Linked DNA regions of Homo sapiens: regions 2, 3, 4, 5 and 6 are each linked to region 1. The links are contacts of gene promoters, found by promoter capture Hi-C in blood cells and fetal thymus (Javierre and others, 2016). All regions are on one chromosome and are shown on one strand. The core of a region is centred on a gene start or on the middle of the fragment in contact, and the rest is flanking DNA. Distances in the headings are between cores, read along the strand shown.

The links. The method cuts DNA at HindIII sites, captures the fragments that hold promoters and counts their contacts. A CHiCAGO score of 5 or more calls a contact.
Region 2: a fragment that was not itself captured here is called in contact with the fragment with the promoter of CNTRL in region 1 in 8 of 17 cell types (naive CD4 T cells, monocytes, neutrophils and 5 more); the score reaches 10.6 in naive CD4 T cells.
Region 3: a fragment that was not itself captured here is called in contact with the fragment with the promoter of CNTRL in region 1 in 15 of 17 cell types (naive CD8 T cells, naive CD4 T cells, non-activated CD4 T cells and 12 more); the score reaches 23.8 in naive CD8 T cells.
Region 4: a contact is called between the fragment with the promoter of STOM here and the fragment with the promoter of CNTRL in region 1, in 8 of 17 cell types (total B cells, activated CD4 T cells, naive CD4 T cells and 5 more). The highest score is 8.3, in total B cells.
Region 5: a contact is called between a fragment that was not itself captured here and the fragment with the promoter of CNTRL in region 1, in 13 of 17 cell types (naive CD8 T cells, total CD8 T cells, non-activated CD4 T cells and 10 more). The highest score is 20.6, in naive CD8 T cells.
Region 6: a contact is called between a fragment that was not itself captured here and the fragment with the promoter of CNTRL in region 1, in 9 of 17 cell types (non-activated CD4 T cells, total CD4 T cells, total CD8 T cells and 6 more). The highest score is 18.7, in non-activated CD4 T cells.

The regions. Positions count from the first base shown.
Region 1 is chr9:121,073,336-121,077,268 of GRCh38, reverse strand. It overlaps CNTRL (centriolin), which reads right to left and starts at 2,314. Exons shown (of 44, transcript NM_007018.6): 1 at 2,202-2,314. It also overlaps a transcript of C5 not described here. RefSeq lists silencers at 1,910-2,049, 2,170-2,229, 2,854-3,050 and an enhancer at 2,350-2,739. The HindIII fragment of the contact is 4,047 bases long and covers 1,342-3,933 here.
Region 2 is chr9:120,668,491-120,672,423 of GRCh38, reverse strand. The region is part of intron 1 of MEGF9 (multiple EGF like domains 9); the gene reads left to right. Among named protein-coding and RNA genes, the nearest start is that of MEGF9, 44 kb to the left of the region's middle. The HindIII fragment of the contact is 251 bases long and covers 1,591-1,841 here.
Region 3 is chr9:120,719,955-120,723,887 of GRCh38, reverse strand. It overlaps the pseudogene AHCYP2. Among named protein-coding and RNA genes, the nearest start is that of MEGF9, 7.5 kb to the right of the region's middle. The HindIII fragment of the contact is 4,871 bases long and covers 1-3,933 here.
Region 4 is chr9:121,368,106-121,372,038 of GRCh38, reverse strand. STOM (stomatin) reads left to right here and starts at 1,789. Exons shown (of 7, transcript NM_004099.6): 1 at 1,789-1,912. The coding sequence starts at 1,852. It overlaps LOC102723324 (a long non-coding RNA gene), which reads right to left and starts at 2,146. Exons shown (of 7, transcript NR_187160.1): 1 at 2,073-2,146. RefSeq lists enhancers at 1,275-1,364, 824-1,784. The HindIII fragment of the contact is 8,041 bases long and covers 1-3,933 here.
Region 5 is chr9:120,798,529-120,802,461 of GRCh38, reverse strand. It overlaps B3GALT9 (beta-1,3-galactosyltransferase 9), which reads right to left. Exons shown (of 3, transcript NM_001386823.1): 3 at 675-3,887. The coding sequence ends at 2,784. Among named protein-coding and RNA genes, the nearest start is that of B3GALT9, 7.0 kb to the right of the region's middle. The HindIII fragment of the contact is 2,767 bases long and covers 554-3,320 here.
Region 6 is chr9:120,815,640-120,819,572 of GRCh38, reverse strand. PSMD5 (proteasome 26S subunit, non-ATPase 5) reads left to right here. Exons shown (of 10, transcript NM_005047.4): 10 at 1,410-3,520. The coding sequence ends at 1,667. Among named protein-coding and RNA genes, the nearest start is that of B3GALT9, 24 kb to the right of the region's middle. The HindIII fragment of the contact is 371 bases long and covers 1,506-1,876 here.

The sequences.
Region 1 (3,933 bases), core at 1,065-3,564:
GGCGAGTAAAGGAGCAGGATAAAGAGAAAAAAAAAGCAAATAAAGTTCAGAGCTGCAGTTGTATTTTAAAGGCTGTCTGCAGAGCAAGAGAAAGCCATTGGAATGACATGATAATCAGAATCCTACGTCCAGGCAACAAAACACTACCCATCCTGCCACCTATAAACCCAGATAGTTGCTCTGATCTAACAATTCAGTCCATCACAGCTTAGTACAGACTGCAAACTCCACCTCCATCCAGCCTTTCCTAACCTTCCTAACTTCCCATCTTCTCTGATCTCCAAATAACGCAGACCTCCTTCTGTCTCTCTACAGACTCCCTAATATGCAAATACCCATCCCCATTTATTAACCCCCATATCCCTCTCCTTAGCCCTTTAATTGGATTTCAGTACTTTCCAAGTCTACTTCATCCCATACCCTCTGACCTACTGAAATACTTTTACTCCTTAATCTTCTCCTCCTTTCAAATATCCTGATTCCGATTCCTCTGCAAAGTCTCCAGCCATTTTTCTTTCCAAAGCCAATTCCCCCATTCTGTGCTGCCCACCCACCTCTGCCTCCCATTCTTCTTTATCCCATTCTGATTGCCAATTTTCCCACAAATTCTATCCCAGTTCCCTAACACAGTAATAGTCTCCCCCATTTCTCTATGGTTCTTTCCTGTGCCCAGACTCAACATTTCTCTATCCATCCAGACTTCCCAAGCTGCTCATCTCTCTTCACCCCAGAAAATACCCTGACATCCTAATGCGTTCCAATACTCTGACCTCCAATTACTCCCCTCCCTAAACAAAATACTCAAACCTCCATCCATTCCTCTTCATCCCAACCCAACTGCCTGCCTATTTGCCTTTCCATCCTAATACTCTAGCCCCCGTATCCTTCTCCATCCTATTAAAAGCCTGAATCCCCTCTCCCATCTCTCTTCTTCTGCTCAGATACCCTAAAACTCAAGCTTCCCATCTCTTTCCATTAATTATTCAATTTTATTGAGCAACTTTTATGTAGGAAGAACCATGCTAGAATCTAAGCTCAAGATGCAGAAGATTTTATCTCCCTATTACCCATGATCTCTGCACCAAGCAGTCTCCTTCATAGCATTTTATAACCATTATTTGTGAAACTACTTGGTTGTTGCCTGTTTCTCCTTCTAGACTATAAGCTACAAGAGAGCAGAGGTTTTGTCTGTTGTTCTATAAACAATAAATATTTGTTGACTGAAGGACTGTACTAAACACTTAGACAATACCAAATTTAAATCCTCAAAGATTTAGCTGTATAGGATCAGAATTATTAACCTGATTTACAAATGGCAATGTACCTGAACAGTTAAAAGCTTGGATTCTGGAACGAAACAGCCTGAGTTCAAATTCTGATTTTCCACTTACTGTGTGATCTTAGGCAAATTACTTAACCTCTCTGGTCCTCAGTGCTATCACTTTTTAAATGGGGATGATAACCTCATACAAGTTATTTTAAATTCTAAATGAGGTTAATACGTGCAAAGTGCTTAAAACTGGATCTGACAAATAGTGAACACCCAAAAATGATTCGCAATTATTTGGACAAATGAGGAAACATGATCAGGAAGGCTCAGACACATATCCAGGGTCACAGACCTGGTTAAGTTACACAAGGTGGCAGAATTGAGGCTTCAACCCAAGTTTGTCTGGCTTCAAAATTCTCTAGTCCCTTAACGAATATAACGGAAGTGTTTGTTCTTCCCCTTCTTTTAGCATTTCGTCCCCATATCCTGTCATCTTTCTCCACGCACTGTACTCCGTCCGATACCGTGACAACCCGTCAGGACGCCCAAACTGTCCTTTCTCCCGCTCACTCCCCACAGACAGCTGGCACATCCCAGCTCTCCCCTCAGCTCAGGTGGCAGGACCCACAACCTTCTGGGCGCCGCACCCTAACTTCCACACCTCCCCACACTCTGGTTCTTCATCCCCAATCGCCCCCGCCGTCCCCACCTCTTCCCATCCAAACCTCCCTCCTTCATCCACCGCCCCACGCCCGTTCCGGGCCCTCCCCTCTTTCCCGTCCAATCCCAATTCCCAGACACGCGCCCCCGCCCCGAATCCATCCCAAGCCGGCCCACACCACGCCCGGTCCGGGCCTTCCCGCCTTTGCCGCCGGCCCCCACTGCTCGGGCCGGATGCCGGGGAACGGGCTCGGCCAGGTCTGACGCTCACCGCCTAGAAGCCGAGCCGAGCAGTCCCGCAGGCTGAGGTAGAGCGGGAGAAGTTCGGGCTCTTTCCTCAGGGGCCCAGCGGCGCGGCAGCCATTTTGTTGTGTTGTGCCGGTTGCCGAGGGGCCGCGCGCGCGTGGTCGGGGCTAGTCTCAGCCACGCCCCTCTCCCTCTCCGGTACTGTTGGAAGGGACGCGGAGGCGTTTCCCGCCTCTTTTGCAGCCAGCGCGCTAGGATGCCGGGGAGTCTTGGGCGCGAGGCTTCCGGCCGCGCGGGGCCGACGGGATGCGGTGCCTTCGCCTTCGGATTGCGTTGCAGGTGAAGTGTCGGGTGCAGAGTCAGGGGGAGCCGAGGTTTCATGCGGCAGCTGCCCGCAGTGCTGTGGCCTTCGCTGAGACAAAGCTGCCGCCGCCACCCTCTGAAACACGGACACGCTTCTCAGGGCCTGTGTCCGAGGACGGCCTGAGGCACCGGCGCAGCGCCTCCCCGGCCTCCCCCACTTCTGATGCTTGCGCGCTATGAGCGAGTGTTCTTATCAGCACACTTCTCTCTGACAGTCGTATCTAAAGCGAATTCCCTCCAGGGACCGAACTGCCCAGGCTCGGATGAACCTCAAAGCGGACGCAGCCTGGGCTCCAGCTGTCGCGTGAGGTTCAGGGAGCTTGGGAATCCTAGGCAGAGGATGTTCCTCTGATTGCTACAAGGGAGTTAAAGCAAGAAGCACTTGCACAGGCTTCATCTGGGGCTTGCCCATGAGCACGGCGTTCACGACATGCATTCAACAGATATTTTAAAGAATTTAGCAGATACTGGGCTGGATGCTAGGGAAACACTGAAGTTTTTTTTAAAGTGTTATCACCATTGACGCCTTTCACTCCAGTAGCCTCCCGTTTTGAAGGTATACCCTGGACCATGTTACCATCAGAGGCTGCACCCGCTCCAGAAATCCCCAGTGCAATCGCTCCCCATCCTTGACTATAATCCTATCATCTTAGCAGCGTGCCTGCTCAAAAGACCCCTATGCCAGCGTATTTCTAAACTTCCTTGCGTCTTCCAGTCCCTTGTTCTTACCATTTTCTCGCGATCATTCTATCCTGTCTTCATTTCCTTTCTTCACTACAGAGTTTATAGGCCACCTGTATAACACTTTTAGAAACTCCCTCTCTCTCTGTGTCTCAGTTTCCTTATCTATGAAATGAGGTCCTTTTACCTATTAACACTTCCTACAGTTTTCCTGATAATTATAAAAGTGAATCCTGGCCGGGCGCTGTGGCTCATGCCTGTAATCCCAGCACTTTGGGAGACCAAGGTGGGAGGATCACTTGAGGTCAGGAATTCAAGATCAGCCTGGCCAACAAGGTGAAACGCCGTCTCTACTAAAAATACAAAAATTACCCGGGCGTGGTGGCGCACGCTTGTCATCCCAGCTGCTTGAGAGGCTGCAGGAGGATCGCTTGAACCCGGGAGGCGGAGGTTGCAGTGAGCCGAGATCGCGCCACTGCACTCCAGCCTGGACGACAGAGCGAGACTCCATCTCAAAAAAAAAAAAAAAAAAAAAAAGTCCAGTTTTCCTGATAATTATAAAAGTGAATCTCTGTGAAAGAACTTAGAACAGTGAGGGACCCATAGTAAGTTCTCAATATGTCTTAGATATTTCATTATTAGACAAAGGTTACCCAGAAGCAATACTTCTTTCTACGCCCAAAAGAAGAGTTTAGGCAAGGAGTAGGGAGGTG
Region 2 (3,933 bases), core at 467-2,966, 400 kb after region 1:
ATGGGGTCTCACTATGTTGCCTAGGCTGGTCTTGAACTCCTGGATTCATGTAATCCTCCCACCTTGGCCTTCCAAAGAGCTGGGATTTTATACGTGTCGAGCTACTACCCCTGGCCCAGTTTTGTTTCTTTTTTGATCTGAAGACCATTTCTTTCTTTTCCTTGCCTTATTCCACTGTCTAGGACTTCTAATATGATTTTGAATAGGAGTGGCAAGAGAGGACATTCTTGCCTTGTTCCTGATCTTGGGAGAAAGTAATTAGTCTCTCACTATGAAGTATAATGTTAAATGTAGTTTCTTCATAGATACCCTTTATTAGGCTGAGAAAGTTTCCTTCTATTCATAGTTTTCTGGGCACTTCTCCCATGAATGGATGTTAATTTTTTAAAATCTTTTCTTGCATCAGTTGAGATGAGATGGCATTTTTCTTTAGTCTGCTAACAGGATGGATTGCACTGATTAGTTTTCAAGTGTCAAACCAGTATTTCTGGAATAAATCCCACTTAATCTTTTTATATATTGCTGGGTTCAATTTGTTGTTTATATATTACTGGTTATTTTGTTGAGAGGTTTTTGATCCAAGATGTTCACAAGGAATATTGTTCTGTAGTTTTCTTGTAATGTTTTTATCTGGTTTTGATGTCAAAATAATGCTGTCCTTATAGAATTAATTGGAAAGGATTCGTACCTCTTCTGTTATCTGGAAGACATTTTATAGAATTGATGTTATTTCTTATTAAAATGCTTAGTAGAATTCTCCAGTGACGCCATCTGGGCCTGGAGATTTCTCTTTTGGAAGGTTTTAAACTATAAATTCTATTTCTTTAATAGGTATAGGACCATTAAGGTAATCTGAATTAGGTTTTGATAGCTTGGTTTCCAAGAGATTGGTCCATTTCATCAAAGTTGTTGAATTTATGTGCATAGAGTTATGCATAATATTCCCCGTAGTGATGTCTTCTCCTTCATTCTTCATATTAGTGTCTGAAAACAATAACAATGATTTATTTCTCATTCTGATGGTTCTTCTCCTGGTCTCTCTTGGGCTTACTCTGGCTGTATTGGTAGATTGGCTACAGCTGGAGGATCTAAAAATGGCCTCACCCATATGTTTGGGGCCTTGATGGGGATGACTGGAGTAGCTGAGACTTGTCTCTCCCTGGATTCATTGGGAACCAAAATGATCTGCCATGTGGAAGTGGAAGCATAAGGAGAGGACTTGATCATAGTAAAATCCTCAGTAAATGCTCATGGATTTATCCAATGACGTGGAGACCAAAGAAAGAGTTTCAAAGAGGAAGGGGTATCAGTATGTCACATGCTGCAAAATAGTTAAGCAGAATATGGCCTGAGAAGGCTATTGTTTTGTTTTGGGTTAGTAACTTTTGAGAGAGCATTTTTAGTAGAGTTTAGAAAAGATTGCAGAGCATTAAGAAGAAAACGTGGTGAAGAAAAGGAGGCAGTCTGTATTTTTGTTTGAGAAATTTTATTTAGAAAATAAATGCTAGTTAAATGGAACAGGAGACTAAACAGAGAATTGTGAGAGACCCAATGCATATTTGAAGGTAAATTCTGTAAAGAGTGAAAGCTTGAAAAGGCTCAAGTAGGGGGACAATGGGAGTGGGCAGAGTAGAGTCCTGGAAAGAGCTCTGGGAGAGGATGTGATAAAGAGCGCAGTTGGAGGGATTGTTTGGTCTTGGAAGGAGCTGGCTAGCCTGAAACTGGAGGGAAGGTTAAATTGATGGGAAAAAGCAGGAAGAGAGAAAAAGAAGGTCTCAGTTTCCATGAAGTTGCAACCATTTGCTGGTTGTACAGTGGGATGGAAGACTTAAAGAGAAGCTTGGAATAGCCAATGCTGGCAATGGATATTGAAACAGTAAGATAAATCTAAGGATTTAGAAGCAGTTCTAGGGACTTAGTGAAAGTAAAACCTTTAACACACTAGGTCTTTATATTGTAACTTTCTCTAACAATGCTCTAGGAACACGGTAGAGGATACATAGTGGAAGGTACAAAGAACTTTTAGAGGCCGGGCACGGTGGCTCATGCCTGTAATCCCAGCACTTTAGGAGGCTGAGGTGGGCAGATCATTTGAGGTCAGGAGTTTGAGACCAGCCTGACCAACATGGTGAAACCCGGTCTCTACTAAAAATACAAAAATTAGCCAGGCATAGTGGTGTATGCCTGTAGTCCCAGCTACTCGGGAGGCTGAGACAGGAGAATCGCTTGAATCCAGGAAGCGGAGGTTGCAGTGAGCTGGGAGTGTGCCATGGCACTCTAGCCTGGGTGACAGAGTGAGATTTAGAGAATAAGGGTGTTTAGAATGCTAATGAGTAAAGTATTTGAGTACATGATCCTGTATAGTAAATATTTTTCTATAATCTAGACTAGACTTCTCTCTTTCTTCTACCTTTTTTATGACTTCAGGAAACTTGTTGAATTATTCCAATTCTGGATTAAAAGAAGGTCCCTTCTGCCAGAAAATTGTAAAAAGCTGTAGTTTAACCAACTCTAATTCCTAATCTTCCCCAATCCCTTATTTTAGAGCATTTATTGTCATATCTCGTTTCTGATATCAATTTCTGAGAGCATTTTCTACATTTTAAGAAAAGTAGGACATCTGGGGAGATAAAACAGTAAATATCCTATTCTGATACTGTCACATTTTTATCTCATTTCATCCTCAGAAATAACCATATTAAATATATTTGCTGTCATTTTGCCTTATGTATTTTGAGACTATGGTATTAGATATATATCTAATTTAGAACTACATATTTTTAATGAATTGTACATTTTTTTATGTAGTGACCAGACCTCTTATCTGCTTATATTGCTTTTTTTTTTTGCCTAAACATCTATTTTGTCTCATATTAATTAATGTAGCTAGCTGTACTAGTTTTCTTTTGGCTAGTATTTACGTGCTTCATCTTTTTTCCATTCAGTTACTTTTAACCTTTAGGTATAATTCTGTTTTATGTCTTTTGTAAACTGTTTGTAGCTGGATTTTGTGGGTTTTCATTGAATCTTGAAGATCTTTGTCTTTTAAATTGACCAGCTCTAATTTTATTTTATAAAATGGAATCTGATTTGAACAGACATTTATAGCTATTTACTGATCAGTACTGTGCTAAGCCACTATGAGAAATGTGGAGAAATATGAGAAAATTTGCCATCATTGAGCAATTTAAAACCTGTGATTTTCCCTTAAAACATAGTATATACATTCTAAATTTTCAAAGGAAATTGCCTTCTGATTTACTTATTCAGATTATTAGATATACCAGTGGGTCAATTAAAAAAAAGTTTTTGTAAACCAAAAACAATATACATGGCCATATATAATTTGACCTTTAATTATTTTTCATGATAGATGAAAAGAATTAGCCACATTTTGTACATGGAGACACTGAAACTCAGAGCAGTTAGACTCACTAACAGTCCTAGAGCTGGTTAATTAGCAGCAAAGTTTGATTTTAAAGTGTTCTGGGTCTGTCTGATTGTTGGCTTCTTAAAGTGAAAAGACATGGACTTTGGAGTTACTCATTTTGGGCTTCAGTCTCTTCTTTGGTACTGATTAGTTGTATGATTTGTTTCATCTATCTGATACTCAGATTCCTTGCTTAAGGTACCTGCATCACAGGATTATGGTGAACACTAAAGGAGGCCATTTGTGTCCAGTTTCTTGTGTGATGTCTGATATATGTATAGTATATGCTTAATAGCTGGTAATATCATCATTGTTATTAGTAGTAAAAACTAGCCTTTACAACCTTTTCCAGAACTTGTCATCTTGTCTCATTAATTAGATGAATTATCTCTGAATTGTGGAAAACTGGCAGTGAGCCAGGGACAAGCACTAACAACATGATTTTTAAATGTGAGACAGAAAATTTTCTACAAAACCTGGGTTATGTTGCCCCATTTATTTCA
Region 3 (3,933 bases), core at 962-3,461, 350 kb after region 1:
TGCACCTGTCAGTAATCCCCTTTATTACAATGATAGCAACCTAAGGGATAGAGTTATTTGTGAAGGTCTAACCCTATTCCTCCCCCAAATGGTTCAAATTCTTTGTATTGCAGCCAACACTGATGACGAGTGAGGGTTTGACTTGGTGCCCACTGTGAATGACGTCCTTCAGTAGATCTCCAAGAACTGCAGCAAATGCTTTTCTGGGCTTATTTTAGCATCAGAGGGCCTTTGAAGCAGGATTTCAACATTTAGCTTCATTGTTTGGGGATGGTGCCTTGCATTTAATGTAGGTTTACAACTTGAGCCTTCCTTCCTCTCATCATCTTGAGATACCATGAAGGCAGGTCAGGGATGTGGTTGGCAGAGACATATCTTCAGATTCAAATGAATTCTGTTGTTGATTGTTATTGATTTTGAGAGTAATAAGTGCTCACTATTAAAAAAACTGGAAAATGTAGAAAACTATGAAGGAGAAAAAAGTTAAATATCCATAATGCAGTCACTCAGAAAAAAAGAATGTTAACATTTTGGTGTATTTCCTTTTGGTATTTTATTCTCTGCACATATTATCATTTACACAATTTGGGAATCATGGCATAAATAGTTATATTAATGATTTTTTCCACAATTTTATAAGAATTTCCTTCATAAGTATCTTTTTTTTTTTTTTTTTTTTTTTTTTTTGAGACAGGGTCTCACTCTGTCACCCAGGCTGGAGTGCAGTGGCACCATCTCCACTCACTGCAACCTCCACCTCCCGGGTTTAAGTGATTCTTCCACCTCAGCCTCTAGAGTAGCTCAAACTACAGGTGCAACGACGATGCCAGGCAAATTTTTCTGTATTTTTGGTAGAGATGGGGTTTCACCATTTTGCCAGGCTGGTCTCGAACTCCTGAGCTCAAGCAATCCACCCGCCTGGGCCTCCCAAAGTGTCAGGATTATAGGCATGAGCCACTGTGCTTGAGTATCATCTTTTTTTTTTTTTTTTTTTTTCAGGCACCAAGATTTTTATTTACCCACCTTCCTGCTTTCTTTTAACATTAAAACCATATTATTCTCTTTTTGAACCAGGGTTGTGATAGGAACCATCTTGTTACAAAGTAGTAGCAGATCTATGCTTGCTTTTATGTTTTTATAGCCCCTCTGGCTGTCACTTCTCTGTCCTTTCTCAGTTATCCCTTTACAGTCTATTCTGACCCCTGTAAAACAGGGACTAAAAGTACCAACCTCATTGTTATGAGGTTTAAGAGAAGGCCCAGCCCTAAGCCAGGCTCTCAGGAAAATTCAAACAACAGTTCCTCTTTGCCTTTCAATATAGCTCCTTCTCATCTGTCATGGGCTGGGGAACCACTGAACCTGTAAACCACGGGTATAAGTCCACAGACCAGGAACACGGTATAAGTCCACAGACCAGGAACCTTACCTGAATGGTAAGGTACATGGGCTTTGTGACTCCACTACCAACTTCCAAACTAAGGAAGGACTGACTGGGCGCCAGTGGCTCATGCCTGTAATCCCAGCACTTTGGGAGGCCGAGGCATGAGGGCAAGAGATCGAGACCATCCTGGCCCACATGGTGAAACCCCGTCTCTACCAAAAATACCAAAAAAAAAAAAAAAAAAAAGGAAGGACTGACTTAGTGAGCAGTTCCAAGACCACTCAACTCATGGTTCCTTGTGGATGCCTCCCTTGTACCTCCATCATGACCAGGGCTTGAGGAGGGGCCTCTCAATTTCCCCGCCACACTTGATATAGTGTTAGGGATGCAGCAGAGGCCAAAAACTGAGTGACCAGCCCCATCGATGGGGGACACTAACCAACCAATCACAAAGTTGGTGCCATTTGCTCTTAGGGAGAAGAGGCGGGGCCTGAGCAAGGACAGCAGCTGGAAAGTGAAGGGCAGGCCTGACTCTCAGCAGCAGTAGTGATCCGGCTTGAAGGGGCCATCACGGGACGTGCTCAGCTACTGGGCTTGCTTCTCAGTTAGCTTGGTCAATTTCACGTTCATCTTGCCCAGGGGGGCGCCTCAGCCACTGCCTCATCCAGCTTCTTGGGCAGGAAGTGAACCCCAATGGGGTACTTGTCTGGGTGGGTCCACAGCGCAATCTGCACCATCACCTGGTTGAAGGAGTTACTCCCCACAAAGCTGGGGCGGCCCATAGCACAGCCCAGGTTGACCAGCCAACCCTCAGCCAGCACGATGATGTGGCACCCATTCTTCAGCCAGTACCAGTCCGCCTGGGCTTGATGTTTGCCTTCTCCACAGCATTGTTGTTGAGGCACCTGACATCGATCTCCACGTCAAATTGTTCAGTATTACATAAGATGGCATCATCCTTCATCTGCTCAAAGTGCCGGCCAAGGATGATATTGACACAGGTTGTGGTGGTGACAAAGATGTTGCCCTCCTGACAGGCCTCGTCCATGGTGGTCACCTCATAGCCTTCCATGGCAGCCTGCAGTGCACTGATGGGGTCAGTCTCGGTGATGATTATGCAGGCCCCAAAACCCTGCAAGGCCTGGGCACAGCCCTTGCCCACACCACCATAGCCTGCTACCACTGCTACCTTGCTGGCAATCATCACGTCTTGGTCCACTTGGTGCCATCTATAAGGGACTCCTGGCAGCCATAGAGGTTGTCAAATTTTGCTCTTGGTGACGGAGTCATTGACGTTGATGGTAGGCACCTTCAGGATTGCACTGGCCATCATCTTGTGTAGGTTGTGGACCCCGGTTTTGGTCTCCTCAGAGATGCCTCAGATGCCCGACATGAGCTGTGGGTACGTACTTGGTGTGGATGAGGTTGGTAAGGTCACCCCCATCATCCAGAATCATGTTGAGGGGCCCGTCCTTGAAGTACAGTGTCTGTTCAATGCACCACGGGTACCCCTCTTTCATTTTGCCCTTCCAGGTGAACACTGGCATGCCAGCCTCGGCAAAGACAGCCACTGCATGTTCCTGGGTGGAGAAGATGCTGCAGCTAGACCACTGCTCCTGAACACCCAGGGAGAAAAGGGTCTCAATGAGGATGGCCGTCTCCACAGTTATTTGCAGGCAGTCAGCAATGCAGGCACCCTTCAGTGGCCTGGAGGCCGAGTAAAGCTCCTGCATGCCCATCAAACCCGGCATCCATTCTCCACAATGTCTAGGGCCTTGTGTCCCCAGGTGGCCAGGCCGATGTCAGCAACTTTGTAGGGCAGTTTGTCAGACATGCTGGCGGCACCTTTGATGGACAAGGGCAAAGGGGGCTGGGCCATAGTCTGGGGACAGGCACTGGGTGGGCAGTGTTGGGCAGGCAGTGCTAGGCAGGTGAGTATCATTTTTTATAGATGTATAGTGTTTCTACATAGAAACATCATACAGCACAAAGTACTCAACTAATCCTTTGTTAACTGTTTAGATTTTTCTAATTTTTGTAATTATATAACACTCTGGTGAACATTTTTGTACATACATATTTACATCTGATTATTTATTTCCTTTGGATAGATTCTTTTTTTTTTCTCTTTTTGGGACAGGGTCTTACTCTGTTGCCCAGGCTGGAGTACAGTGGCATGATCATGGCTCACTGCAGCCTCGACTTCCCAAGCTCAGGTGATCTCCCACCTCAGCCTCCCAGGTAGCTGGGACTACAGCTGCATACCACCATGCTAATTTTTAGTAATTTTTTTTTTTTTTTTAGTAGAGACGGGGTTTCACCATGTTGCCCAGGCTGGTCTTGAACTCCTGGGCTCAAGTGATCTGCCCACCTAAGCCTCCCAAAGTGTTGGGATCACAGGCATGATCTCCTGTGCCTGGCCTTTGGCTAGATTATTAAAAGTAGAAATAATGAGCCGGGTGCAGTGGCTCACGCCTGTAATCCCAGCACTTTGGGAGCCCGAGGCAGGCAGATCACCTGAGGTCGGGAATTCGAGACCAGCCTGACCAACA
Region 4 (3,933 bases), core at 540-3,039, 300 kb before region 1:
TGTTTGTGACAATAAGATACCAAATTATAAACAAATTATACCTAAGGTCATGCCAGGCAAAGGTTAAGGCACACATCCCTTCACTTAGAGAATAAACTGTGTTCTAACTGCCACAAGGTTGTTCTCTTTCTCTAGCAGCTTAACAAGCACTGGCCTCGAGATAAGCAATATTAAAACAATTTGCAGCTCCACCAGATGTGGCCTAATGGAACCCCTATTCCACCAGCCATCATTACAGCTTTAATTGGACAAGAGGCTGATTTCAGTAACTTTCTCCTCATAGGAAAACTACCGACCATGGACTGGCTCTGGCTAGTTTACACAGACTGCATACTTGCACACCTTCCTGTCCTGAAAAGACCTTTTGACGCATGGGGTCTAACTGTAATACATGTATTGTTATTATTTTTTAGAGTCCATCAGGCTGGAGTGCAGTGATCTGATCATACATCACTGCAGCCTCCAACTCTTGGGCTCAAGTGATCCTCCTGCCCCAGCCTCCTGACTAGTTGGGACCGCAAGCACACACCACCCCACCTGGCTATTTTTTTTTTACTTTTTGTAGAGATGGGGACGTCACCATGCAGGCCAGGCATTTAACATTTAATTGGTAACTCTTCACTCCAAAATGAACATGGGTTGTATGTTACATGCATGTTTGCTCAATGGGCATGCGTCAGGACCACCCTCATGAATATTCATAGCTCCTCCTGTCACCTGCTGAATATGCATGTCTACCCAAGCTGTTCAGCATAAAGCCGCTACTCCAACCCCTCCTCCAACGAAATGCCTGTCTCTGGTCCTGGCCATTCTCCAGCCTGCGGAATGGCCACCTTGCAGGCTGTAACCCCTTACAAGAAATAAAGTCTCCTCTCCTGTTTTTTTGTTTTTTGTTTTGTTTTTTTGAGACGGAGTCTCGCTCTGTCACCCAGGCCATCTCGGCTCACTGCAACCTCTGCCTCCCAAGTTCAAGCGATTCTCCTGCCTCAGCCTCCCAAGTAGCTGGGATTACAGGCGCGCGCCACACGCCCGGCTAATTTTTGTATTTTTAGCAGAGACGGGGTTTCACCATGTTGGCCAAGCTGGTCTCGAACTTCTAACCTCAGATGATCTACCCGCCTCGGCCTTCCAACGTGCTGGGATTACAGGCGTGAGCCACCGCGCCCGGCCTCCTCTCCTTTTCCAAATTTATACATTTTGATTTTCTTAACACACCTCACTCGAGTTCGTTCACTTCGGCTGCGGCGTGATCTGCCGGCCCTCTCAGCTCAGGCTGACCTCAGCGCCCTCACTTCGGCCACTTCTGTGTCCCTCAGTCTTCTCCCCTCAACTCGGACCTCGCGCCCTCATGACAGGGCGCCATTTTCTTCCCTCTAACTCCTCAGCCCAGAGGAGGCGCCTTGGTCCCGTACCTCTGCCCGGCAAGGCGACTTTTCTTCACTTGCACTTTTGCCTCGGGTCATCCTCTGCTGCTACCTCCCCACTATCCTCACCATCTGCTCCACGTCCCGTGGCTTCCGCCCTCCCTTCCGGTGCAGGGCCCCGGCCTCATACCCACAGCCTTGGGGGCTCTCGCCCCTCAGGCCACGCCCCTCAGGCCACGCCCCTCAGCCCACAGAACTAGCGGGAAGTGACTGCGAAGCAGTCGCGCCGTGGAGGGACAGGAGGGCGGGGATTGGGAGGTGGGTCCTCCTCGATCCTGGGCGTTGATTGGCCAACTCTCACGAGGGCGGGACCTCGATTGGGGGCGGGGCGGCAATCTGGGTCTTGTGCCTCTGGCTCCTCAGGGCATTCCCGGCGGCTCCGGGTTTGGCAACGAGGACGGGGGAGTGCGACTGCGTCTCGGGCAGCATGGCCGAGAAGCGGCACACACGGGACTCCGAAGCCCAGCGGCTCCCCGACTCCTTCAAGGGTGAGTCCCGCGTCCCCTGACCCTCCCCCGTGGACCGAGCCCCCGCCCGCAGCGTGCGCTCCGAGGTCTGACAGCCGGGCTCCTGGCCAGTCTCCGCTGCTTCGGGCTGGGCGAGATCTCAAAGCCGCGGCTCCTCCCTAGTAAACTGAGCATCACGAACCCTGTTTGGCAGACTGAGGTCACGATGGAGGGGTGGCGGGCTGCCAACGGCACGTTTCCCATCGCACGGGCCCTGGTTATCTCGCGGCCGCCAGATGCCAAGCCCCATGCCAGGGCTGCACTATCTCGTGTCACGCACGCGGACTAGGAAACGCAGAGGGAACTGGCAGCCAGCGAGGCGGGGACCGGGACCCCACATCTCACCCTTTGCCCACTCCCCTTCTTTCCCGACTCACTCTCTCGAAGGCCGCCTCCTCCACCCAGCCCTGGCCTGGCCCCAGGGTGAACCCCCTCCTCCCCCAATCCCACCTCCCGAAACTTAGACCGATTTGCAGAAGGAAGAAGTCTCTCTGGCTTTCTTCTTACCTCTCTTTCTAGCTCCACTTTCTGCCCCATTTTTCCCCCTCCGCTTTCCTCTGCGTTTTGGAGAACTCTCCTTCCCGGCTTTTGTTCCTCGCCAGGAACCCTGAGTTCTCCCACCCTCACCCCCACCCTCCCTTCCCAGTCTTCAAGGCAGGAGCTGTAAGTGGCTCAGTCTCGTTCCCCTGTGGAGGAACTGGTACTCTGGGGAGGGGGTTCCAATAAAGAGAGATGGTGGACCTCTCAGGAGTCCTGGTACCCACTCAGGAGCTCTTAGTGATCCAGAGGAATTACAGTGTTTCTAAAGATGGAATTTCAGGCAGGATGGCAGTGAAAGCAATTTAGAGGGCTGGGTGGTCCTTTCCAGGACCCCTCAAAGAACATGACATTGGAGTCATCTATTCTGATTATTTGTAAAGCCAGCTTTATCCACAGCATCTTAGCTATAAGTTCCATTTCCCTTGTCCAGGGATCCCTGTGTTCAGTTCCTTCCCAGGAGCATCAAAGGAATTACAGAAATCTTTATTCCTCACTTTTTGTCTACTAATAACGTTGCAGGTTATCTTCCCAAATGGAGAGTGTAACAGGGAGGAGTTGATGAGAATAATGGCAACCACAACAACAAAAATTGAAACTAAATAGGTCAGGCTCCGTATCACTTTTTTTTTTTTTTTTGAGACGGAGTTTCGCTTTTCTTGCCCAGGCTGGAGTGTGATCTCCGCTCACTGCAACCTCCGCCTCCCGAGTTCAAGTGATTCTCCTGCCTCATCCTCCCAAGTAGCTGGGATTACAGGCGTGCACCACCATGCCCAGCTGATTTTGTATTTTTTGTAGATACAGGGTTTCACCATGTTGGTCAGGCTGGTCTCAAACTCCTGACCTCAAGTGATCCACACGCCTCGGCCTCCCAAAGTGCTGGGATTACAGGCATGAGCCACCGCGACCCCCCCAGTGCCACGTATTTTATGTATATATTATTTTATTGAATCTTCACAACAGATGATGTGGTAGGTATTCTTATCCCCATATTATACTTGATGAAACTGATAGTCAAAGAAGTTAAATTACTTAAAGTCACTTAGTTTGTATTTAAATCTAGATTTGACTGATTCTAAAACTTGAATAGGGAAAAAATGGGTGGTAACTGCCTCTTCGATAGTTAGTTGTCTTTTCCTAGATAAAAAGGTGGGTATTAGCATGCATTCCTCAATACCCTGACCTCCTGGTGGGAAACTGCAGTGGCAAATCTGCTTGGAGTTCTTTGAGAATCAACATGATCTTTGTACTTAATGTTTATTTACAGACAAGTGGTCATAGATGAGTTTTTAACTTCCAGTTTTTTTCCTTGGTTCTACACTTAACTACTGTTTAGACAGAAATCTTTCAAGATCTAATGAAAACCACCACTTCCTCTCAAAAATTAGACATACAAATAAAATTTTGCATAGTCTGTGTTTTTTTAATGTAAACCTAACAAATTTGACGCTACTAGGAAAGGTATT
Region 5 (3,933 bases), core at 688-3,187, 270 kb after region 1:
GAAATAGAAAAAAAATCCTAATATTCATATGAAAATGCAAAAATCTTTGAACAGCCAAAACAATCTTGAGCAAAAATAACAAAGCCGAAGGCATCATACTACTGGATTTGAACATCTGTTACAAAGCTACAGTAATCTAAACAGCATGTACACTATAAAAATAGACACACAGACCAATGGAACACAATAGAGAGCCCAGAAATAAATTCATTCATTGATAGTCAATTGATTTTTGATAAAGATGCCAAGAACACTGAATGGGAAAAAGATAGTCTTTACAATGAATGGTGCTGGGAAAACTGGATGGATATCTACCTGCAGAATAATAAAAGTATACCCTCATCTCACACTATATACAAAAATCAACTCACAACGGATTAAAGACTTAAATGTAAGACCTTAAATGTAAGACCTGTACAACTACTAGAAGAAAACATAGGTGGGGGAAGCTCCATGACATTGGTCTGGGCGAAGATTTTCTTGGCTATGACCCCTTAAGTATAGGCAACAAAAGCTAAAATAGACAAATGAGATAATACCAAACTATAAAGCTTGTGCATATCAAAAGCAGCAATCAGTGAAGAGATAAGCTATGGAATGGGAGAAAATATTTGCAAGCCATATATCTGTTCTGGGGTTAATATCCAAATAGATAAGGGACTCAAACAACACAATAGCATGAAAGCAAATCACTTTATTTATTTTATTTTATTTTGTTTTTTGAGATAGAGTCTCAGACTGTTGCCCAGGCTGGAGTGCAGTGGCATGATCTCGGCTCACTGCAACCTCCACCTCCTGGATTCAAGCGATTTTCCTGTGTCAGCCTCCCGCGTAGCTGGGATTACAGGCACGTACCACCGGGTCCAGCTAATTTTTTGTATGTTTAGTAGAGGCGGGGTTTCACCCTGTTGGCCAGGCTGCTCTTGAATTCCCATCTCAGGTGACCCACCTGCCTTGGCCTCCCAAAGTGCTGGGATTACAGCCATGAGCCACTGTGCCCTGCCCAAATAACCTGACTTAGAAATGACCAAAGGCCCTAAATAGACATTTCTCAAAAGAAGAAGTACAAATGGCCAACAGGTATATGAAAAAAAAATGCTCAATACCACTAATCATCAGGGAAATGCAAAGTAAAACCACAATGAGCCATTATGGTAAACCAATAATACAGCCATTATGGAGGTTCCTCACAAAATTAAAAATAGAACTGCCACACAATCTAGCAATTCCGCTACTGGAAATATATCCAAAAGATATTAAATCAGTATGTTAAAGAGATATCTGCACTCCCCACATTCAATGCAGCATTATTCACAAGATTAGTGGCATCTATCTAAGTGTCCACCAGTGCATGAATAAAGAAAATGTGGTATATATCCACAATAAAATGCTATTCAGCCTTATAAATGAAAGAAATCCTGTCATTTCCAACAACATGGATGAACCTGGAGTGCATTATGTTACATGAAATAAACCAGGCATTGAAGGACAAATAAGCACATGAGCTCACTTATATGTGGAGTGTAAAAAAACTCAAATTCATAGAAACAGAGAGTAAATGGAGGTTACCAGAGACTGGGGGTTGGGAAAACTTGGCAGATATGGCCAAGAGATCCAACATTTTTGTTAGACATGAGGAATAAGTTCAAGAGCTCTATCATACATCATGGTCATGACAATTAACAGCAATATATCAATATCTGATAATTGTTAGTAGAGTAGATTTTAAGTGTTCTCACTACAAAAAAGTATGTCAGGTGATGCATGTGTTAAATAGCTTGATTTAGCCATTCTATAACATATACATATATCAAAACATGTTGTACAACATAAATATACATAATTTTTACTAGTCAGTTTATAAAAAAAAAAACTTAGTTATAATGAATTGTGTACTGGCCAGGTACGGTTCCTCACACCTATAATCCCAACACTTTGGGACTTTGGGAGGCTGAGGTGGGAGGATCACTTGAGCCCAGGAGTTCAAGACCAGCGTGGGCAACATCATGAAACCCCCATCTCTATAAAAAAATACAAAAATTAGGCCAGGCGTGGTGGCTCACACCTGTAATCCCAGCACTTTGGGAGGCCCAGGCGGGTGGATCACTTGAGGCCAGGAGTTCGAGACCAGCCTGGCCAACATGGTGAAACCCCGCCTCTACTAAAAATACCAAAAATTAGCCAGGCGTGGTGGCAGGCACCTGTAATCCCAGCTACTTGGGAGGCTGAGGCAGGAGAATTGCTTTAACCTGGGAGGCAGAGGTTGCAGTGAACAGAGATGGTGCCATTGCACTCCAGCCTGGGCGACAGAGCAAGACTCTGTCTCCGAAAAAAAAAAAAAAAAATTAGCCGGGTATGGTGGCACATGCCTATAGTCTCAGCTACTCAAAAGGCTGAGGTGGGAGGATCCCTTGAGCCCAGGCGGTGGAGGTTGCAGTGAGTCGAGATTGCGCCACTGCACTCCAGCCTGGGTGACAGAGCCAGACCCTGTCTCAAAAGAAAAAAAAAAAACGAAAACTAAATAAACAATGAAACATAATGTTCTCTCTTTTGAGAGAAATATTTCATTTTGAAAAGAATTATGCTACACCAACTTAAATTTTTTAAAAATTTGAGATCTCAGTAATTGAGCACACCAGAGCACAGAAAACATTTTGTACCTTTGCAAATAAAATTAAAGATTCAGAGAACCTACATAAAACATGGGAAAGAAGGGATGCTTTCCATAACAGGGTAGAAGGTAACTTTAAAATAGTAGACTCATAAGGAAAATTAAAGAAATCCTAATCAGCAAAATACATGAGATTGTTTTTTATGGTCCCCATGTGAAAACGTTTAAAGCTGTCAAGGTACGTCAGAAGTTTGCAGGAAATGAGCTCATAGGATGTCTCAAACAGTGTACATTCTTTTCCATCATTAATTTCCTTCCATGCTAGGGGCATTTCAGGATCTGCAATTTCTGAGGATGTAAAAATGAACTTATAGCAACATCTGTTGTATCTAATGTGCCTTTTCCCAGAAAACCTTGAGCTGTGGATGGGTATAAGGCCAATGAACTTAGCACAAATTCCTACAAACACATCAGCTGGCACCATCATGGGTACTTCTTTGAAAACCACATACATCATTCGAGCCACATCTTGGGACATTATAAAGGCCTCACCACTGCAGTAATCTGGGTAGTATTTTTCTGGGTACTCACTAAGAGGGACAAAGTCTCTGTTCTGAGGATCTCTATTGGGTGTAACCTGATGAAGAACTCTTCCTACATAGATATCTTCTAGGTGTTCTTTCAGATTGAGAAGATAGTCTACCAAGCTTGGTAGATTGACAAACGTCTCTTCATCCACCTTGAGAATGAACAGGGCATTAGGGCAGAAAGCCACAGCCCACTGTATCATTGCAATGATCTTCAGGGTTTGGTTCTCAGAACTGTCCAAGAAGATTCCTTCAATTATATCATTATTCTTACAGGATTCTTTGTTGATCTCTTTCTGGGTAGTTACCGAAACAGGCATTCCCAGAGCAAACAGTGTGAGAATGGGATGCCCTTGGACACTGGTCACATTGCCCCAAGTTTTCCTAATGAGGTCCCGTCTTGTTCCATTTCCTGGGCTACTGAAGATAAGAGACAGCAAAAAAATGTTCTTCCCTTTACATATTTCTGACTGGCTCAGGACATAATATTTGGAGAGATTACTTCTTAGGGGTTCGATGTTCAATTTTCTTGCCTTATTCTTAATTTCAAGAACTTTCACATCTATATAAGGCAAAGAATGCAGAAAGTATTCCTCCACAAAGTCAGTCCCAAAAAGCAAGGCATGAAATAGGATGACATTAAATAGAATGAAACACCACTGGTGAGTCCGAAGTCTGCAGAAAGTCACCTAAAAAAGGAAAGGACACGTGTTCATTCAGGCTTCACCTCTATTC
Region 6 (3,933 bases), core at 442-2,941, 260 kb after region 1:
GTGAGCCACCGCGCCTAGCCAGAAACATTTCTTTAAGACTGCTTCACCCTTGTAAATGGTCATTGTATGAGATGGCCATTTTGGATCCTGCTTAGTATTTTCATTATTAGTTTATTTTGGTTTTGCTCTTCTACCTTATCCTGTGCTTAGCTGGTTCCATTGTAGAAATAATTTTCTATTTACTGGTTGGGATAACTATTTTTATTTCTGCCTACTTTCATGCTTGGTTGTGAAGCAGGCCAAAGTTTCTCAAACATTAATCTTAGGAATCTTATTAAAATGTAGATTCTAATTCAGTAGTTGTGGGGCAGAGCCTGGGATCCTGAAAGTCTAACAAGCTCGCAGGTGTTGCTGATGCTACTTGTCTGTGGAACACATTTTGAGAGGAAAAAACTAGGCCATAAACTTGTTACTTCTTTTTCATTAAAACGTAATAGGTTTTGAAAAACTTAATCTTAAAATTTGGAAAAGACTTAGAAGTAGAATTTTTTAAAATCACAGAAAGTTCTACCTTTTGGTGTATTTCCTTTTAGTTTTTGTATTAGTGTGTGTTTATTTTTGGTGAAATATTTCAAATATAGTTGTATCTTGCTACCTCTGCCCAGTCCTATTCCCCTTCCTCTGTTCTTAGATAAAATCACTATCACAAAGTCAGGGCCCATAAATGATTTCATATTTCTACTACATATTGTGTGTATCCTTAAATAAAACACAGTATTTTAGATATTCATAAACTTTGTAAGTGGTATCATGCTGTTTGTATCATTCCATTAGGTTGGTGCAAAAGTAATTGCAGTTTTTGCTTTTTTTTTTTTTCTCTTCAATGTTACGTTTTTTTAAAATTTGTCTATGTTAAAAGAGGCAGTTAGAAAGTTGGTATTTCATTGAATAGCCACAATATATCATTCTCCTATAAATGAAGATTTAGATAGTATCTTACAAATGATACCACAATGAACATTCTTGAAAATGTTTGTGCACTATATGAGTATCTTGAGGTTAGTCTTTTCTACTTTAGTTTTTATTTTTCCACTGTTGTAATCATGCATTGTTTATAATTTGAATCTGCTTTTTTTATATAACAGGTTTACCTGTATCATTTCCTATTTTTTGTAAACATTATTGTTAATGTTTATTTTTATTGCTATATACCATAATTTACTTAACCATTCTCCCATTATTAGATATTTATATTGTAACTTTCACACTATTATGAACATTTTTGTATACAAAGATTTTTCATATTTAAGATTATTTTATTAAGTTAGATTCTCAGGAAGGAATTTACTTAGACAAAAGGTAACATTTTTAAAGTTCATGTTGCCAGATTTCTTTGTAAATATTGTGCCATCCCATTAACAAACAACTTCCACTCAGGGGAATTGTATTCTTTCTGCCTTCCATTTCAGGCCATTGCAAACCAACCCTGGGCTCAGAAACTTATGTTTAACAGTCCAGGTTTTGTAGAATATGTGGTGGACCGGTCTGTGGAGCATGACAAAGCTTCAAAGGATGCCAAATATGAACTAGTGAAAGCACTTGCCAATTCCAAGACAATTGCAGAAATCTTTGGGAACCCAAATTATTTGAGGCTCAGAACTTACCTGAGTGAAGGGCCATACTATGTGAAACCTGTTTCCACGACAGCAGTAGAAGGAGCCGAATGATTTCTTCTAGAGCTCATGTAGAGGACCACGTTTTGACCAAAACTTCTCCTAAGGCATTTGACTCCATCTATATTTCACAAAAGAGACTTCCTTTCCCCAAGAATTATCATGGAATGTCAGATGTTACTTTGTTACCAACACTGTTATATTTCTACATTGAAATGCAAAGTGGAACTAGGAGTTTGGAATGCATTAAGAGCAGACAAGCTTGGTCATAATAGATCCAGTGTTTTTCAGATTCCTTTCACTGCCTTAATCTTTGCAACAGGGTGGAAGTTTTTTTCTTCCCTCAAAATTTTCATGGACATGCAATCTTATCTAAAAGCCTGCTTCAGGGCTGGGCGCGGTGGCTAACACCTATAATTCCCAGCACTTTGGGAGGCCAAGATGGGCAAATCACTTGAGTCTAGGAGTTCAAGACCAGCCTGGCCAATATGGCAAAACCCTGTCTCTACTAAAAATATAAAATCAGCCAGGCATGGTGGCGCACACCTATAATCTCAGCTACTCAGGAGGCTGAGGCACGAGAATCGCTTGAGCCTGGGAGGCAGAGGTTGCAGTGAGCTGAGATCTTGCCACTGCACACCAGCCTGGGCAACACAGCAAGACTCTGTCTCAAAAATAAATGAATAAAATAAAAACCTGCCACCAAATTATTTCTGGATTCTCTTCACTATCTTTTTTTTTCTTTTTGGTCCTTTTTCCATTTCTGATTCCACTTTCAAAGTCTTGGATATATTCTTTGAAAAATGAGTAGTATGGAATATTAAGATTATGTTCCTTATACTCAGAATACTTTTTATGAGCTCTCTTGTTTTTTTGTTACTATTATTCCTTTGAAAAAAAGACAAAATATCTAAAAAATGTTTATAGTGTTCATGTAATTTTTTTTGCTGTTTACCAATGAACTTTGCCCTGTTGTGGTTTTGGGGGATCAGAAGGATTCCTAAACTGTCATTTCATTTATTGGTAGGTCATGATTGCTGAGGGTTTTGCTTTGGATTTTTCATACCTATAAAGTCAATCTTGAGTTGATCAGAGAAAGGGAAACTTACTCCTAATAAACAGACTCAGAACAGAAGGGACATATGCATAAATCAGGATACCATCTCATTAATTTACAAAGGATAATCTTTCTTTTCATTGACAACACCTACACCCACCTGTTTTCCAGTGTTCTTCTCTCTAAACAGCAAAGCCAAAGCACTCTGCACACCAAATCACCTGTTCAGAGGTTTATGCATGAGCATATTTCTTTTAGGCCGTGGTGAAGTTGATAAACCACCCCTGCTTTGTAACAAAATTATTTTAAAGTGACTGGAATTATCTAGTCCCCAGATTGATCATCTCCCCTGGCAACGTGACTCTGTTTTTTGTGTGTGTTTCCATGCTGACTAGTCCCCTACTGTTAATATCACTACTAATTAGGCTATAACCAGGTCTTTCCTGGCCTGAGAAATATTCTCTTAAAATGACCTTTGTTTTAATCTCATTCATGATGTTGATTTTTTTTCAATGTGGTGCAATATATACAATAAAATTTGTCATAACTATTTTAAGTGTACAGTTCAGTATATTACATATGTTCATAAGTTGTACAACCATCACCACCATCCATCTTCAGAATTATTTTCATCTTATACAATTGAAACTGTATTCATTAAACAATAACTGTCTATTCCCTCTTTTCCCCAGCCTCTGGCAACCACCATTCTGCTTCATGACATTGATTTTATTCACTTAACATCAGATTTTGGGGGGATGCCCTCTCTCCTATGTATGGTCTACACATTCTGATTTTTTTTTTAGATTGAATAAAATTTGTAAATCATTATTTTCATTTCATAAGTAAACACCTGTTGACTGCCTATTATGTTCTTGGGATTGGGGAAGGTGCTAGACATTGGCCTAAGTGCCAAGTGCATCTCATTTAATTTTTACATCCCTGTTTCACAGATGAGGAAACCAAGACTTTAGTAGCTTATCTGAAAATCACACAAGAAGAAAGTGTCTTATATTGGAAGAAAATAGGTCAATAGAAAATTAGAGAGTATAAGAAGTACAATAATAGAGGAAAACAGAAAACACGTCCCCTGACTTTAGGAAATGTTTTCCAGGGAAGGAAACACCTGCATCTTGAAGAACTAGTAGGAGGCAATCAAGTGAAGAATACAGTGGAGTAGCAAAGCAAGACAGCAGGTACACATGAAAACAAGAGAACATGTTTGAGAAACTACAAGTAATTCAATATGACCAACGCCTAGGA